Linked DNA regions of Homo sapiens: region 1 is linked to region 2. Evidence: promoter capture Hi-C in 16 types of primary human blood cells and fetal thymus (Javierre and others, 2016). All regions are on one chromosome and are shown on one strand. Each heading gives the region's core, a stretch centred on a gene start or on the middle of the fragment in contact. The rest is flanking DNA. Distances are from core to core; before and after follow the strand shown. Region 1 overlaps GPATCH8 (G-patch domain containing 8). Region 2 holds the start of ITGA2B (integrin subunit alpha 2b).

Region 1 (4,366 bases), core at 913-3,412, 110 kb after region 2:
AAACTCCTTGAAAACAAAAACACTTCTTAACAAACTACCCGCACAGAAATACTTACACTACAATACGTACTTCTTCGTACAACCACTATTCAAACACTGTTTTATTTAATTAAGTTTTCAAAAATTAGTCTATATTCTAGAAACTATTCTAAAGGTAAATATACCCCTTGTTATTGCTCGCACAGATGATACCCTAGTACAATATTAAACCAATTAAATTTTCAACCACTTTTGCCCTTTCTTTAAAGATACCTCATAATTTCACTCATAGCTCTATTCATAGCAACAAGGGAAATTACTGACACTACAGCATACAATCCACAAGCATTAGCTTTAATTTCTTTTTTTGTTTTGTTTGGTTTTGAGATGGAGTCTCACTCTGTTACCCAGGCTGGAGTGCAATGGCACAGTATCGGCTCACTGCAACCTCCACCTCCCAGGTTCAAGAGATTCTCCTGCCCCAGCCTCCTGAGTAGCTGGGACTACAGGAGCGCACCACCACACCCAACTAATTTTTTGTATTTTTAGTAGAGATGGGTTTTCACCATGTTGGCCAGGCTGGTCTCGAACTCCTGACCCCGTGTGATCCACCTGCCCTCAGCCTCCCAAAATGCCGGGATTATAGGCGTGAGCCACCGCGCCCAGCCTACCTTTACTTCTTCTATAGTCAAGACCTACAGTATCAAAATAATTTCTTGATTTTGATCAGCACTGCCTACAAAAATGATGAAAAAGTAAGCTCCTCTTTTCTTATTAACTCTGGAAGAATAATGTTATGGGGGCTATAAGACAGGTACTGACTTTTCCAACAATGTCATTATTAAAATGTCAGAAAACTCTATGACTTTTTTCTATTACAACTTTAAACCTGTAAAGCTATTTTGTGTCTCAATTCTATGAAACAGTAAGATGAATTAGAATTCCTCTTTGAAATCAATGTAATTACCAAAGAGTCACAAGGATGACAACAAACAACTGGAACTTCATGAGATGAGACCAAATGCGTATTACAAAGACACTTTCTGGTTGCTTGAGTGACACGCACACAGGAATTATTGTACCTCAAAACTATCACAAGAAGAATTAAAGCAAATGGCAGGATACTCCTGTTTTGCTCACTAACAACTTTTATTCCTTACTATCTATGGGGCTTACTAAATAACAGTTACGTGCTACTCATCTGTGTACAATGTCAGAACAACTTTAGTTGCTTTTTCTTCCTAAATTAGGAATAAAATACTAAACATATTTGTTTAAATTCCAAAGAAATCATTTGGTATAAGAACGACCATACATTATACACCTTCTTTCAGCCTGGGCATATTTAACTTTTTGCATTGACTAATACGATATGCATTAAGCACATTTGCTTAGACCTCCAGAGTTAAATGGACAATTCACTTTTTATAAGTGGAAAATTATTACAACATCTTCTGGTATTCACTGCAATATCAAATCAATGACTTCTTTCAGTATTTGTGGTGGTCATCTGTAATTCCTTTGGTAATTACCATGAATCTGCTTTCACTTAATGCTAAATGGTAATGCTAATATGAAAAGAAAATTAATGCCAGACTTACAAGCAAAAGTACCAAGTTGTTTCAGGGAAGGAATTTTAATAGAACTCACGAACTGGAATCTATCTACTTCAAGCTAGAAACCATTTTCATTAATAAAATACTAGAAACTAAGTCACAAGAGCAAAAATGAAAACTTTACATAGGTTTCTGATTCATAATTAAGATCTCATGAACTTCTGCTACGCTTTCAGAAAATGGCAATCTTGGCCAGGTACAGTGGCACATGCCTGTAATCTCAACACTTTGAGGGGCCGAGGTGGGAGGATAGCTTGAGCTCAGGAGTTTGAGACCAGCCTGGGCAACATGGAGAAACCCCATCTCTACAAAAATGAAAAAAATTAGCAGGGCTTGGTGACACACCTGTAGCCCCAGGTACTCAGGAGGCTGAGGTGGGAGGATCACTTGAAGCTGGGAGGTCAAGGCTGCCAGGAGCCATGATCGCGTCACTGCACTCCAGCCTGAGTGACAGAGTGAGACCTTGTCTCAAAAACGAATTTTTTATTTAAAAAAATTAAATTTAAAAAAGTCTTGACCACATCAAAAAAACAGACTGTCAGCTGGGTGCAGTGGTGCATGCCTGTAATCCCAGCACTTTGGGGGGCTGAGGTGGGAGGATCGCTTGAGCCCAGGAGTTCAAGACCAGCCTGGGCAACAAGTTGAAACCCCGTCTCTAAAAAAAGTACAAAACTTAGCCAGTCATGGTGGTACATTCCTGTAGTCCCAGCTACTTGGGAGGCTGAAGCGGGAGGATTGCTTGAGCCCAGGAGGTGGAGACTGCATGAGCCAAGATCCCACAACTGTACTCTAGCCTGGACAAAAGAGCCAGACACTGTCTCCAAAAAAAAAAGAAAAAAAGAAAAGAAAAACAGACTGTCCTTTTAAAAATTTTTATCATGTACCCAGATAGACAGAAATCACATGGAAATGTATCTCAATTATGAAGCAGCACAATCAGGATAGCTTATTACATATGTATCTTGAAATATTTTTAAGTCACAAATTTTAGCTTTGGTTATACAATTTATCATAAAGACATGAGAAACTGTGATGAAAGAATCCCTTTGCAGTACTCTAATGAGAACTGTGTTACATGTATAGAAGAAAGGGAAAGGTACAACAGGAGTACCTGTTTTTCTATCATTTTGACTGTATTGTAAGAGCCCTGAAATAATACTCGGCATAATACTCTATTTGTCCAGATCTGTTTCTTCCTGCCTCCCATGCCTACTTTGAAAACAAATAATATACATCATCACATGAAGTCCTCTGATCACAGTTCTTCCCAACCCCAATCTTTCCTAATTACAACTTAAGTCTCTCTCTGTGATGTTGAGATGTCCTTGATATGTCCCACATTTGAAAAGTGATTATATACCATTTACCCTTCAAATCACCTCCAGGGAAACTTCTCTTATGCTGACTTTACTTTGGTCACTCTCGATCTCCTAAGAATGTATTAACCAATGTCAATATCATTTTGCATTTGCTAACAATCATGTCAATTCAGCATCAGTATTTTGAAACTGGTACAGCCCTGATTCTAATCCTTTTCACTTATCATACTATGAGACAGGGAAGAGTAATGATTTTGTATAAATTTCAGTATCCCAAGCCAAACTGACATTAATTTTCACAGCTTGTGGCATTTCTTCCAGATTACGGGAGCGAGACATAGGAAAAACGATTTAAAACACTTGTCCATGTGTCATATCTGGCATACCTGAATTACAATGCCAACTATATTACATACAGAAAATACACTAATATGCTTCTGTGACTTAAATATCTTAAAACTATGAACCTCTTCACTTAATAGTCTCAACTAAGAATTTCCTAAGGGTCACATACTGGTTACATATGGAAACACAAAGAGGATTCCTACAAACATACTGCATAAATGTAATACATGACTAGCTTATTGCTATTTACCATTATGATTACTTACATAGATTACAGAAAGTTCTTGGGCAATTTCTGTATTTTTATTACGACCTTTAACATAGCATGTCTTGTTTCTCTTATCAACTTATCACTCACTGATCTATTACTGTAGTTCCTTTTCATTAGAAATAAAATGCAGAGGGCCAGGCGCGGTGGCTCAAGCCTGTAATCCCAGCACTTTGGGAGACCGAGGTGGGTGGATCACCTGAGGTCGGGAGTTTGAGACCAGCCTGACCAACAGGGTGAAACCCCGTCTCTACTAAAAAATACAAAAAAATTAGCTGGACATGGTGGGACATGCCTGAAATCCCAGCTACTCGGGAGGCTGAGGCAGGAGAATCACTTGAACCCGGGAGGCGGAGGTTGAGGTGAGCCAAGATGGTGCCATTGCACTCCAGGTGGGCAACAAGAGCGAAACTCCATCTCAAAAAAATAAATAAATAAATAAAATGCAGAGAACACTCGGAACACGAATCATCAGTCCTCTGCAGGTACATATACTAAAGAACATTTCCTCACCAGCATTCAGCTGCATCACCAATAATAGCTGCGCAACCATAAAATGCTAAGCACTGTTTCTTAATGGCACCGTATAGCTAGCTGTACATCACTGTACAAACAAAACTTTCTTTAATGAACCTGTAATCCAAAGTGTTGATTATCTTAAGTTATACATTTTCCATTAGTTTGTGTAACACTTCAATTTGGGAACAAATATATCTTAATCTGGTAAATGCTGGCAGAAGTAATATCTCATTCAGAAATTGAGGCCAGATTCTTAAAGGAGTAGTTAAAACTCTTAAAACATTTGTAAAAATAAATACATCAGCTTAGATTACAAAGAT
Region 2 (4,535 bases), core at 585-3,084:
AAACCCCATCTCAAAAAAAAAAAAAAAAAAAAAAAAAAAAGAAGAAGAAGAAAAAAAGAATTGTCAGAGTTGATGAAAGAGGGCTGGACCCTTATCAAATGCCTCCCCCACACCTGCCTCCACTCTCCCCACTCACCCACTTCTCATTGATCAGACACTGGATGTGGGCCATCTTGGGAGGGGACTTGGAGTGAACTGGCTCTCTTCAGCAGAGGAAATCCCCTAAGTGGCTGACACTTGAAGGCTATCTGCCATTGCCACCCATTGCCACTCCCTGAAGCTGGTGGGCACAGTGTCTCTCACAATAGTAGCTCAGGGTACACGCTATGAAGAGGAGGAGCCAAGACTCTAATCTTGGCACTCTTGATTCTGAAGCCTGATCAATACTAATCATTAATGACCTATTGCTTCTTTTCAAATATTTATAATGTTGATGGAGATGAGGGAAATGGAACAGAAATGCAAGGTGCGGGAGGGTAGACAACTTTAGTTCTGCAAATCAATTTAGGACATGTGCTCCTCTCCACATTTCCTTTCTTTTTTTTTTTTTTTTTTTTTTGAGACAGAGTTTCGCTCTCGTTGCCCAGGCTGGAGTGCAATGGCATGATCTCGGCTCACCACAACCTCTGCCTCTCAGGTTCAAACGATTCTCCTGCCTCAGCCTCCCGAGTAGCTGGGATTACAAGCATGCGGCACCACGCCCGGCTAATTTTTTTTTTTTTGAGACGGAGTGTCACTCTGTCACCCAGGCTGGAGTGCAGTGGCATGATCTCAGCTCACTGCAACCTCCACCTCCCGGGTTCAAGTGATTCTCCTACCTCAGCCTCCCGAGTAGCTGGGACTACAGGAGTGTGCCACCACGCTCAGCTAATTTTTGTATTTTTAATAGAGACAGGGTTTCACCATATTGGCCAGGCTGGTCTTGAACTCCTGACCTCATGATCTGCCCACCTCTGCCTCCCAAAGTGCTGGGATTGCAGGTGTGAGCCACTGTGCCTGGTCTCTTTTTTTTTTTTTTTTTTGTATTTTTAGTAGAGACGGGGTTTCTCCATGTTGGTCAGGCTGGTCTCGAATTCTCGACCTCAGGTGATCTGCCCGCCTCGGCCTCCCAAAGTGCTGGGATTACAGGCATGAGCCACCGCGCCCGGCCTCCTCTCTGCATTTCAAGGTGTTGAGGGTGGAGTGGTTCATACAACTGACCCTTGGGGAAAAAATAAAGCATCAACTCTTGTCTTCCCTTTGTTCTTGCTGTAGTTTTCAGTGCCCATCAGCCCACATGTGCCCTGCCCTTATACCTTCACCTGAGCCAGTCCCCTGGACCCCAACATTCTTGACAAGAAATCAACCTGAATAGGCCCCACAAGTCACCTTGCTCAACTGCTATCGCAAATGGGAAACTCGAAGCCCCCAGAAGCAGTGATGGGGAGGGGTCCTGCTCTCTCCCAATACCCCAACTTCCCTTACGGCTCACCTCCCATGGCTGTCCTTGTGGAAGTCCAGTGAAAATCCAAACTGGCTGCCATTGGGGCCTGCATAGAAGGTGAGCTGCACTGGGTCCAGGTTCAAGGCCCAGGCTGGAGGGGCAGCACAAGGTCCCAAGAGCAGCAGCACCCACTCCAGAAGCCAGAGGGCTTGCAGTGGACACAAAGCTCTGGCCATCTTCCTTCTTCCACAACCTCCCAGGCAGGAATGGGCCAGCTCCTCCTCCTTCCCTTCAGATTCCTCCACAGGAAGTCTTTTCTTATCAAACTGGAACCCCAAGTAACTTGCTGAGCAACGGGCAGAGCAAAGGGCTATAGCCCCTGGACTCATGGTGGCTAGAATTGCCAGGAAGTGGGTGAGGCCACCCAGAGGGTGGATGCTCATGGCTGAAAGCCATGACTCCTCCCCTTTCCTGAGAATAGTTTATTACCATGTCCTATTGGTTCTGCCTATCAATGATGTCTCTTGAATCTTTACCCCATCTCTACTACCACCGTGCTAGTCCAAGCCACCATCACTTTCTGCTTGGGATAGCGTGATTGTGAACTGGTCCATACTTGTCTACTCTAGCCTACAGTTCTAATCTCCTCCCTTCCCCCATCTGGCTGTACAGCTGTGGTGCTTTGTGACTTGGCCACAGGTCGGGGAAGGAGAAGGAAGCTGCTGCCCCCGATAAAACCTGAGGCTTCTGTATCTTTTTGGATATGGCATTTACCCACTTCCTCCTTCTAGGACCTTGGGCGGCCTCAACCAGCCATATTGGTGCAGCAGCTTCCTCACTCCTCCTCCGTCTTGAGCCAAGCTTTAGTGTGGCCACAGCAGTGCAGTCAGTGCTGGGGACAGGGTGGTGAATGGACCTTGGTCTAGGTGGCAAGGAGATTGGGGATAAAGTGGAGTTATTCCAGGGAATTTTGACTCACAGTTTCTGAGATTATGCATTAGCTGTTCAGTTGAAGGTAGGCCCTCAATCCTTTTTGGGTGATGGAGCTCTTTAACCATTAAGACTTGATTCTGGTTGGGGGCTTTGCCTAGGGGAGCCTTCCCTGACTCCTCAGGCTGGCCGCGTGGGCTAACACACGTAGGCACAGCATTGAGCACACTGTTTACTCTTGGTCCGTTCACAGGATTGTGTAAATGAGTCCCTTGGGAGCAAGGCTCCTTGCTACAGCCCTAGAGACTACCCAAGAGTCCAATGTGTAGTACGTGTATTGCTGAAAGACTGGATGGAAACACACACTAAGGATGGAAGATGCAAACATAGGGTGACAAAGTGAAGGGATGAGTTTTGAGCAGAAAGGCAAAGTCATTTTCTCTCGGTAAGCGGAAGAGGAGGAGTGCCAAGTCTTACTGGCACTCATGCCTTCCCAAAAAAGCAGGTTCTCAGGAAGATTTAAGAGGTCCGCTAGGGGTAACCATAGCCACATTTTCCTTTTGATTTCTATTTTCTGATCAAACTTAACCATTGCCGTATCCTGCTCAACCACCCTGTACCATTTTGAAGTCCCCTCGTAATTTACTACCTCAGCCTAGAGTTAAGAATCTTATCCTTTATAGGACAGGAAGCTAAAAGCCTGAACTTTGGTCTGGGCCTTCTTCATTGCTGAGTTCCCAGTGTCAAGTACATGGGAGGCGTGTAATTAATGTATTTGCTTGAACGAATACTTAACCCAGTCCTCTACTTACCTTCTATCCTCCCACTGTCCTCAGGTGAGTGATTGCTGTATTACTGGTGTATTCTGTGAGGCCAAATATGAACTTACATTTCACTCAAGTTTTCAATAAGTATTTACTCTGTTCAAGGCACTGTGTTGATAAAGGATACAAAGATAACCATTAGGCCAGGTATAGTGGCTCATGCCTGTAATCCCAGCACTTTGGGAGGCTGAGGCAGGAGGATGGCTTGAGCTCAGGCATTTAAGACCAGCCTAGGCAATACAGTGAGACCTCGTCTCTATTTTAAAATTATAAAAAATAAAATATTTTAAAAACTCCAAAGATAGCCATCAAGGAGACTTAACAAACAGCCCAGAAAGAGTTAAGACATGAACACACATAACTGCAGCAGAGAGACAGTCAAGCATGCCTTGAAAAATACACAGATTATCAAAGTCGTATATCATTGTTACTCATAACAACCCTAGGAAATAAGTACTATTATGCCCATTTTATAAACACAAAACTGTGGCACAAGAGTTTTAGGTAAATTGCCCATGTTTACGCAGCCAACAGATGGCAAAACTAAGATTCAAACATGGGTTGCACTTGAACTCATGTTCAAGTTGCCTTTTGTCAGAGAATGAAAGGGTTTTTAGGCATAGAGAATACATGAGAGCAGCAAAGGAACACAGAGGTAGGGAAGGACAAGTAGTTGACTCAGCATAGCAGAATGCTTAAAGGGTTGGACTGAGGCGCAAGGGGGTAAAGCTTGGGGATTCAAATTACTGGAGGTCCTTGAATGCCATATTAAGGAATCTGAACTTTAATCCATGGGGGATGGAAAATCATAAAGATTTTAGCCGGGCATGGTGGCTCATGCCTGTAATCCCAGCACTTTGGGAGGCCCAGGCGAGTGGACCACAAGGTCAGGAGTTTGAGACCAGCCTGGCCAACCTAGTGAAACCCCGTCTCTACTAAAAATACAAAAATTAGCTGGGCGTGGTGGTGTGTGTCTGTAATCCCAGCTACTTGGGAGGCTGAGGCAAAAGAATTGCTTGAACCTGTGAGGCGGAGGTGGCAGTGAGCTAAGATCATGCCACTGCACTCCAGCCTGGGCGACAGAGTGAGACTCCATCAAAAAAGAAAAAAAGAAAGAAAGAAAAGAAAAATAAAATTATAAAGATTTTTTACACCAGGTTTGGTGGCTCATGCCTGTAACCCTAGCACTTTGGGAGGCCAAGATGAGGATTGCTTGAAGCCAGGTGTTTGGGACCAGCCTGGGCAACATAGTGAGACCCTGTCTCTACAAAAAAATTAAAATTAGCCAGGCACGGTAGTGCACACCTGTAGTTCCAGCTACTGAGGAGGCCGAGGCAGGAGAATCACTTGAGCCCACG

What was found. Contacts are between HindIII fragments. The CHiCAGO score rates a contact against its expected background, and 5 or more counts as called.
Region 1: a fragment that was not itself captured here is called in contact with the fragment with the promoter of ITGA2B in region 2 in 1 of 17 cell types (megakaryocytes); the score reaches 8.7 in megakaryocytes.

The regions. Positions count from the first base shown.
Region 1 is chr17:44,495,523-44,499,888 of GRCh38, forward strand. The region is part of intron 1 of GPATCH8 (G-patch domain containing 8); the gene reads right to left. Among named protein-coding and RNA genes, the nearest start is that of GPATCH8, 5.7 kb to the right of the region's middle. The HindIII fragment of the contact is 9,814 bases long and covers 1-4,366 here.
Region 2 is chr17:44,387,815-44,392,349 of GRCh38, forward strand. It overlaps ITGA2B (integrin subunit alpha 2b), which reads right to left and starts at 1,835. Exons shown (of 30, transcript NM_000419.5): 1 at 1,472-1,835. The coding sequence starts at 1,659. RefSeq lists an enhancer at 1,992-2,051. The HindIII fragment of the contact is 14,706 bases long and covers 1-2,282 here.